Linked DNA regions of Homo sapiens: region 2 is linked to region 1. The links are contacts of gene promoters, found by promoter capture Hi-C in blood cells and fetal thymus (Javierre and others, 2016). All regions are on one chromosome and are shown on one strand. The core of a region is centred on a gene start or on the middle of the fragment in contact, and the rest is flanking DNA. Distances in the headings are between cores, read along the strand shown. Region 1 holds the start of ALDH18A1 (aldehyde dehydrogenase 18 family member A1). Region 2 overlaps ENTPD1-AS1 (ENTPD1 antisense RNA 1).

Region 1 (4,802 bases), core at 1,392-3,891:
TTTGTTTTTTTCTACCCTACTGCAAATTCAAAATGCTCCACATTTAACACATTTCGTATTCTCATTCCCCACCCAAAAGAACTGTTGTTCCCCGTTCACAGTTCCACATGGCTGGGGAGGTCTCAGGAAACTTACAATCATGGTGGAAGGGGAAGAGGCATGTCTTACATGGTGGCAGGCATGAGAGAGCAAACAAGTGAAGGGGGAAGAGTTCCTTAGAAAACCATCAGATCTCATGAGAACTCACCTCATAGATTTCCTGATTCATGGTATTGCAGCACCATCAGATTCCCAAGCACTGCTCTTCTTCTCTCACTCTCCCACTTTGAATAAGTGCTGTCAGCTCTCCCTCCTTTTTGTTCCCCATTCCTCTGCTGGAGCCTTTTTTGGGCCACCATTTCTTACCTGGGCCTTTGCAATAGGCTAACCAACATTCCAGCTCTAGGCGTCTTTACTGATTTCTGGCACAAAAATCGGATCATACCATTCCAGCACTTAAAAAGTCATGTTTCTCTGTTTTTAAGGATTATAAAATTCAAAATCTTTAGCATACCACAAAAAACCCTTTGTAAGTTTAGGATACCAGCCAGACCCCTCTCCTGTCATGTCCTACTGCAAGTAGCCTCTTTTCACGGGGTGTCTCACACCTCTGCATATATCATTCCCTTATTCCCTCTTCCTCATATGATCCTGTACTCCTCTCCTCTTTTAGGTAAACTCCTTACTTCTAGTGCTTCAAAGCACAATTTGAATATCAACTCTTTTTAAAGCCATTGTATTAGTCTGTTTTCACACTGTTACAAAGACATACCCAAGACTGGGTAATTTATAAAGAAAAGAGATTTAGATGATTCACAGTTTCACATGGCTGGGGAGGTTTCAGGAAACTTACAATCATGGTGGAAGGGGAAGAGGCAAGTCTTACATGGTGGCAGGCAGGAGAAAGCAAACCAGTGAAGGGGGAAGAGTCCCTTATAAAACCACCAGATCTCATAAGAACTCACTATCACAAGAACAGCATGGGGGAAACAGTCCCATGATCCAATCACCTCCCATCAGGTCCCACCCTCCATAGGTGGGGATTATGGGAATTACAATTCAAGGTGAGATTTGGGTGGGGACACAAAGTCAAACCATTTCAGCCATCCCTGAATGTCTGGCCATCCCATTCTTTAGTATTCATCACATGGTATTGTAATTATTTGCTCATATATCTCTCTCTTCCATAAGGCTGTGAACTCAGCTATGTCTTCTTCCACACCCAGGGAATGCTTGGCTGTCTCAGTCCATTTTGTGCTGCTAAAACACAATAACACAGACTGGATAATTTTTAAATAATAGAAATTTATTTCTCACAGTTCTAGAGGCTAGGAAGTCCAAGATCAAGGTGCCAGCATCTGGTGAGGGCTTTCTTGCTGTATCCTCACGTGGTGGAAGGGCAGAAGAGCAGAAGAGAACACCCACCTCCACAAACCTTTTGATAGCAGCATTAATCTATTCATGAGGGTCACTCTATTCATAAAGGTGGAGCACTCTTGACCCAAATGCCTCCCATTAGGCCCCACCTCCCAATATTCTTGCATTGGGAATTAAGTTTCCAACATATGAATTTTGGGGGACATATTCAGACCATAGCAGTAGCCAGTGTTTAATAAACAAGAAAATGAATAAATAGGCTTAGTAGTGTTATCAGGGACGACAGAAGGGCATGATGCCTTTCTGTGCCCAACCTCCTATCAAGTGCTGCCCTCCCACCACCCAGCACTATGTGCCTATGCAGGAATGTGTCCTTTGAGCAAAATACAGCAAGGAAAGAGGGAGAAAAATCTGTGTTTTCACTTTTTTTCTTTTTCTTTTTAAGAGGTGGGGTCTTGCTGTGTTGTCCAGGCTGGATTTGAACTCCTGGGCTCAGGTGGTTCTCCTGCCTCCACCTACGAGTAGCTGGGACTACAGGCACACACCACAGTGCCAGGTTTTTGTGGTCTCTCTTTAAAGGTGAGTCTGCATTCACCTTTGGAATAGTTCTAGTTGTCATAGATTGAATATCCTATTTTAAAATGCAATATTCTTACAACTGCCTTTGATGAAAGGGAGTTGAGATGGGACCATTGGGGAAACCTCCAGATGACTAGGGGGCAAGTAATTTGATTGCAGTGCCAAAATGCTTCCATTTAAGGAGCCAAAGTTTGCAAATGTGTGTAAACTGATCCAATCTATTCCCAGGATGTGCCTGAAGTAACAAACATATGTAAGTTGATCCAACCTATTTCCGAGGTGTGCCCGGGATATAAATGGTTAACATTGACAAACACACCTTATGAAATCTACCAGCAGCTGAGGGTGCCAGGCACCTCTTCTACCTCCCTGGAAGGCCCAGTGGGGCGGCGTTTCGAAGGTGTCTTCGCCCCTGTCTCCGGCCCCTGTCCCCTCCCGGGACGTGGGCGTTCCCCCTGAACTCGAGTCCCGCCTCTTCCAGGCTGCCGGGGCCTGGTGGGCTGGCCCGCCACGTGGAGCGCTGGCTTGATTCTCGAAAGGGGCCTACGCCATTGCCGCGCCGCAGCTCCAGGACAGGCCCTCGCCCCACGTCAACAGCGTAGGGCCGGCTGCCCAGGTTTACTCTTACGCCACTGACGTAACGTCATCGTGCGGGACGTGGACGGAAGAAAAAAGAGAGTGAGCGAGCGCCGGAATCAGCCCGGCGTGGAGTGCGGACCCGCGGTAGTGCCAGGGGGCGAAGGCGGCGGTGGTGAGGAAGGTACGCGGCGAGCGGCGGGGATGGCTAGGCGCCCGCGTCTCTGCGGAAGCTGTTGCGCGCCCAGGCTCAAGCGCGAGGGGCGTGAGCGCCGGGCCGCTGGAGCGGGGACGCTGCCGGAGCAGGTGCCGGGGCCCGGGGATCTGGCCCATGGGTAGGTGTGGGCCTCGGCCGAGGGATGGCGGCTGCATCGGGCCGCCCAGGGCGCGCTGCAAGACCGTGGCGCGCTCCCATATGCCGGTGCGCGGCCGCCCCGGGATCTACGGATGGCTACGGGCCCTGACCTCCCCGGCCTCCCCTGGGTACACCATGTAAGGAACTGGGCCAAGTGGAGACTTCAGGCATCCGCGGGCCCCTTCTTTCCAAGAGTATGGAGCCTGCACTGGTGGGTGGCGTGGGTGGCGGTGGTGGCAGCGCCGGGATGCCGCGGGTTTTAGCTGGCCGCACGCTGACTCTCAGGGGCCTGGGTCCCTAGTTCCCCGCGGCCCTCCAGGCGTTCATCATCCCCTCCTCAAAGCCAGACTCCCTTTGCAGTATGGCATTCTGTGTATGCTGGGGTCTTCCTGTTACAGCAGGACGCACCCACATACCCCACCTCGTCCTTCCCCCATCATTATCCCCTGCCCTCTGAGGTGGTGAGGCCCATCGGATCTTTGTATTTAAGTGGTGAGCCATATACCGAGCATGTGTTTGTGGGTGAACTGTGCTGGGACTGAGGTTCACTTCTCTGTTCAAATCAGTTAGATAAGGGCATTCTGTTTAGTCTGTAAAGAGATATTGAGAAATGTCTTGAGTCAAAACGTGAAAACTTTCTTCAACTGATGATATGGAGTCTAAACACACACACAGAGTCGAGACACAGTCACACAAATCTAGACACGAGTCTAGATACACACACACACACACACACACACACACTCTCTTTGCTCCTTGGGATCAACTGTGTGCTTCTCGAGGGCGTAATACACTCTGCCTGGTCAGTCAGAGATGGTGGTACAGGGGAGAGGTCAGGAGGCTTGGTTTCTACGTCAGTCTTCAATCTCTTATTTCAGTGACCGTAGGTGTTCAGAGCTTTCAATGACTCTTGGTTAATAGAGAGGTAAACAGTCAGTCAATATATGTGTGTGATTGTATCTAATAGTGAATATTCGTTGAATTCTTTGTTCCCGTGATGGGTCTTGAAGGAAATTAAGGAAAAAATAATTGTAAGGCATCATTAGTGCCTAAAAGACAAAAGGAGGAAAACTGACATTTACTGACCATTTGTTGTACCCAAGCACTTTCCACGCATTCTCTCTTTTAATTCTCACTATAATTTCATGAGGTCCATAGTGTTAGTATCCCTGATTTATAAGTGAGGAAACAGAGGCTTAGAAAAATTGGGTAACTCTTACATATGTAACTAACCTGCACATTGTGCACATGTACCCTAAAACTTAAAGTATAATAATAATAATAATAATAATAATAAAGAAAAATTGGGTAACTCTCCACAAGACACACAGCAAGTGCAGAGCTCGAACCCAAATCTGACCAACTTCAAAGGCCTTGTTCCTCATCGTTTTTGCCATATTGTCAATGGAAAGTTTGTAATCCAGATGGGAAAAGCAGTAGTCATGAGCTATTTAAAAGCTAACCTATAGAATTATATCCAGCTGTGAAGACTAGCCTTGCTGGGGAAGGTTTCTTAGGGAGGTGGAACTGGAATTTGATTGTTTTACCCTTTGGCTCTTCTGTAGTTATTTTGGAGAATTCACATGTAAATAATTGTTTAGCAGCCATTATTGAAGGAATTTATATAAGCAGCAAACTTAGATCACGTGCTAAAATCATACTTCAGTGTTATGAAAAAATTGAAATAACAAAGATCAATTAATACTTTCTGTTGCCTACTAGATGCCATATGTTTTAGAACAGCTGCATCCTGCCAGTCTCTTCTCTGTCCCATTTCAGTGCCTTTGTGCAGTATAAATTGTAAAGCAATGACACCATTCCTAATTTTTCTTCACTATGGGGCTAAATGCTAGTCTTCTGAGGCACATTTAAGAGG
Region 2 (4,802 bases), core at 381-2,880, 250 kb before region 1:
GGGCGAACTTCGGAAACTTGCTAGTGTAGAGAGCCGCACGGTGGTGGTTTGTATGCTTTCACTCATTCAGGCTTTCCACAGTGTTTAACTGCGTTCTGTGTCAGGCATTATGCCCCAACAGTCGTCTTGTGTAAGACTTCCATGCATTTTTAAGCTTTGCTTTTATTTTCTAAATGTACATGTTAATAGAGAATAAACATTATTGACCTCTTTATTCTGATATTAATTGCCTAAGTTTCGTAGGATTGTCTTTATTTTTTAATAGTATGGTGACCAAAAGTAATACTAGTGTTTAACCTTAGTAAGCAAAATAGAGTCCCAGTGTCTCTGACAGCTTGGCACAGTTTCATTTGAGACCGTAAATCCCACCCTGTCTATAGTCTCTGTCATACTTGGTAACAACCCAGATAATTTATCCCTTCTCGCAGCCTCATTCCCACACCTTCTCCATCTGCTGATCGTCTCACTATCTGCCTTCTTCTGGAAACTGTAAACTCTTTTTCTAGACTCCTCATATGTAAACCCCTCTATATCTTTTTTTAAATTTATATATATATATATTTTATCATACTTTAAGTTCCAGGGTACATGCGCACAACGTGCAGGTTTGTTACATATGTATACATGTGCCATGTTGGTGTGCTGCACCCATTAACTCGTCATTTACATTAGGTATATCTCCTAATGCTATCCCTCCCCCTCCCCCCATTCCACAACAGGCCCTGGTGTGTGATGTTCCCCTTCCTGTGTCCAGGTGTTCTCATTGTTCAATTCTCATATGAAATACTATGCAGCCATAAAAAATGATGAGTTCATGTCATTTGTAGGGACATGGATGAAGCTGGAAACCATCATTCTCAGCAAAGTATCGCAAGGACAAAAAACCAAACACCACATGTTCTCACCCCTCTATGTCTTTATATCTTCTTGTTCACAAAACATTCCTCCTTGTGATATTGGGTACCTGGCTGTCTCCTGAAGACACTGCTTTCCCAGCAATTCACCACAGCGAAAGCCATGCCTGCTGGAGACACTGCTTTCCCAGCAATTCACCACAGCGAAAGCCGTGCCTGCCCGCGCCCCCCGCCCCCCAGAGGTGGTATCTGTATTCGCCATCTCCTCATGGCCATTGCTAGGCCATTCCATCCCACCCCAGGACCCAGAGCTGGTATCTGTATTCGCCATCTCCTCATGGCCATTGCTACGCCATTCCATTCCACCCTTGTAAAACTTACCAGAAACCCTTCTCTAATGAGCCCTTTTCCCTCTCCTCACTGTTATTTACCAGCTGCCTGGTCACTCATGTTCATTAAGGAATTTAGTACCCAACTCAAGTCTTTTTTTTTTTTTTTTTTTTGAGACGGAGTCTCTGTCAGCCCAGTTTGGAGTGCAGTGGTGTGATCTCAACTTACTGCAACCTCTGCCTCCCGGGTTCAGGCGATTCTCCTGCCTCAGCCTCCCGAGTAGCTGGGACTACAGGCGTGCACCACCACGCCCAGCTAATTGTATTTTTAGGAGAGACCGGATTTCACCATGTTGGCCAGGCTGGTCTTGAATTCCTGACCGCAGGTGATCCACCCGCCTCGGCATCCCAAAGTGCTGGGATTACAGGCATGAGCCACTGTGCCTGGCCAGTCTTTCTTTCATACTCAATTGCTACAAGGTTCTGGGGGGACTAAAGCAGTCATGTGTATCACAGGTCCAGCACCCCATATTCCCTTAACTTACTGCCATGACTGACTGACTGCAGGACCATAATATCTAAGACTGTTCCATATTAACAATCACGAACTCTAGTATTCTCTTCTCATCTTCCTGTTTCTTTCATCTCTTCCTCTGCCTTATTCTTCTATACTTAATCCCTGATCTCATGAAGACGCTGTCCCTTGATGACTATTTTGTCATCATCAGCCTCTACCTACATTGACTTTCTTCCTTGTCTAGCCCACACTCCTTGTTTTATTATTTACCCACATCAGTATCCACAATTTCTTTGCCTTTTGTGTTTCTTCCACTTTTGTCCAGCATACCTATTCTAGTTTAGTCTAGCCATTTGCTTTCTCTCCTCATATAGAAAGGTAATTGTATTAGTGAAAATCATGTAACCAGATTATTGCCATGATGATATGGCATGGTCCATAATGTAGCTCAGCCATTCTTTTCCTTTCTCACCCACAGCTACTATTCTAACTTTTATCGTTCCTTAAACCTACTCTACTTTTGACCTTGTACTTTCAGCAGCTGGCTTGGCTTTTTCAGAGGAAACAGAGACTCTCAGACATGAATACTGTGACACTGACCACCAGGCCAACTTAACATCAGCAGATATCCTGTCTCAGATGAAGAGGTATGTTTGATTTATTTCTTTTTTTTTTTTCTATCTACAGATGATCCAATATATGTCCTAGATCCCATTCATTCTGTCTCCTCTGGGGCCTTATTTCATCATTTAACCCTCCCTTTTTATCTTCAGTATACCCTTTCCCCACCTCCCTCCCCTGGCTTTATCTGCCCTATCCAACAAAACAAAAACAAAAAGAAAAACCATCAACTGGGATTATTCTCAGATTTCTTCTCTCTCTCCTTTTTTACAGCCACATTTAGAGAAAAAGGTAATCTTTTTTTCCCTTCCCTTACTTGTTAACTCTTCTACCCACAGAGTTCTGGCTTCCGCCACCTAATCATGCCACCAAGGACTTTGTGATTGCCAAACCCAAAATATCTTCTTAGGCTTCTTTTCTGCACTTGGCTCTGTAGACCATTTCCCAGTCTTGAACTTTCCTTGTTTCATTGTTTTCGCAAACATCAGTTTCTACCATTCTTCTCCCACCTCTTAGGTTATTTTAAATTTGCAGTACCAGTTCCTCTGGGATCTTGCTCTAGTGTGGGGTATCCAATTTTTTGGCATCCCTGGGCCATATTGGAAGAAGAAGAAATGTCTTGGGCCATACATAAAATACACTAACGATAGCTGATGAGCTCAAAAAATAAAAAATTGCAAAGAACTCTCAAAATGTTTTAAGAAAGTTTACAAATTTGTCTTGGGCCACATTCAAAGCAGTCCTGGGCCACATGGAGCCTGTGGGCTGCAGGTTGGACAAGCTTGCTCTAATACCTTTTCTATGCTTTTGTAGTCATTTTCTTCTCCTTGGCATCTAGACATGTTGAAGTTTGTCATAAAAATAAACAAACCTTTCCCTCTGTCCCCCTTCCCGCAGTTGTTGCTCTTTAAGGTTTTGTCCTTGATCTTTTTCTCTTTTCAGTTTCTGTTGTTCCCTATGAGTAATCTCTTAGCTTCAACCACCAGTTTAGGGAAATGACCTCCAAATCTCTCTTTAGCCTGGACTTCTTACCTGAGCTCCTGACGGTGACACCCTTACCCCAGTACCCAAAGTACCCGAAATGTATAGAGTTCAAAACCAACCTTCCCTCCCCAGACTTATTCCCTGTGTTTCCTGTTTCGTGAATGAGGCCAGTATCTGCTCAGTCACCCCAGTGAAAACTAAGAACAATCCTGAAATTCCATTTTTTAAAGTCATTCCACACACATTCAGCAGGTTAATTCTGCTGCCTGAATAGCTGTTCTTTGGAGCCTGTCTTTGTCCTCATGGCTGTGCTTTAGCAGCCAGCATCTCTTGACATTCACTGACTAACTAACTTGTCTCCCAGTTATCTCCTTCTTGTTTCTTTCATTATATTATCACCAGAACTGTGTTCCTAAAGTGCAGACCTGATCCCCTGCTTTCAGTTCCTCCATATAGTAAAATCTGAGCTCTGCCTGACATATATGAACTAGCTCCTTTCTTCCAAAACTTTGTTTTTCTGCGATTCTCCAGCATGCACACTGTGCTAAAACCATGCTAAACCATTAACTGTATCCTGGTCACAGCATGTAGTTTTCTTTGCACGAGCCATTCCTTGCTGGAATCCTGTCAACTTTTCCCCATAAAGTTTCTGCTCAAGCATTACTTTCTTTGTGATGCCACCACTAATTCCTTCTGTATGGCACTGTATAGTAATTACTCATCTGTCTCTCTCTCCACCAGACTAAAAACTGAGGGCTGACACTGAATTTCTTCATTTGTTTGTTGAATAAATGAGTAGCAATTAGCACAGTATCATCTGTGAACAGTGAACCATGATTCCTGTGTACTTTGGGTGATGATCAAATATTAACTTTGGGAAGGACCTCAAAAACAATGTAGGTCAGCTCTTCTTTTATCAGACGCAGAAACTGAGGACCAGCAAAGTTAAGGACCTTAAGCACCTGTTCCTCAGGCACATGATGCACATTGATGCCATCATGCCTTTACTTCTGTTCTCTGCCTAGAATGGACTGTTCCACCTGGCAAAACACTACTCTACTTATCCATGCACCTTGCTTTTCAGTGTTGTTCTTGGACTACCAGCATCAAAGTTATTAGGAGTGTTTATTTAAAATGCAGATTCCTGAACTCCATCACAGAGTTTTTGAACCAATCTCTGGAAGGGAATCCAGGAAGTCCATTTTAAGTGGAGTTTCACTGTATTAACCTAAAAAAAGAAAGGTCTCTACTTCCCCCTCTGCTTTCCCCTGCAAAACAAACACACAAGAAGAGAGAGAAAGATGGGCAGGGATGGGGGCTGGTAGAAAAGAATAAATACTGATTCCAAAATGAGAAAGGAACTGTCTTTGCATCTAGGTTTTAGTATATGCTGCCATAAACAGCTTTCAATAAATCTTTTGTGATTTTCATCTTTGTTACTTACAAAATGAACTAACTCAAAATTATATAGCAATAGCACAAAAAGTAATTGAAGCT

What was found. The method cuts DNA at HindIII sites, captures the fragments that hold promoters and counts their contacts. A CHiCAGO score of 5 or more calls a contact.
Region 2: a fragment that was not itself captured here is called in contact with the fragment with the promoter of ALDH18A1 in region 1 in 1 of 17 cell types (activated CD4 T cells); the score reaches 5.9 in activated CD4 T cells.

Annotation. Positions count from the first base shown.
Region 1 is chr10:95,654,550-95,659,351 of GRCh38, reverse strand. It overlaps ALDH18A1 (aldehyde dehydrogenase 18 family member A1), which reads left to right and starts at 2,641. Exons shown (of 18, transcript NM_002860.4): 1 at 2,641-2,755. RefSeq lists a silencer at 2,795-2,904. The HindIII fragment of the contact is 11,183 bases long and covers 1-4,802 here.
Region 2 is chr10:95,902,375-95,907,176 of GRCh38, reverse strand. All of the region lies in intron 2 of ENTPD1-AS1 (ENTPD1 antisense RNA 1), which reads left to right. Among named protein-coding and RNA genes, the nearest start is that of CC2D2B, 3.2 kb to the left of the region's middle. The HindIII fragment of the contact is 2,948 bases long and covers 157-3,104 here.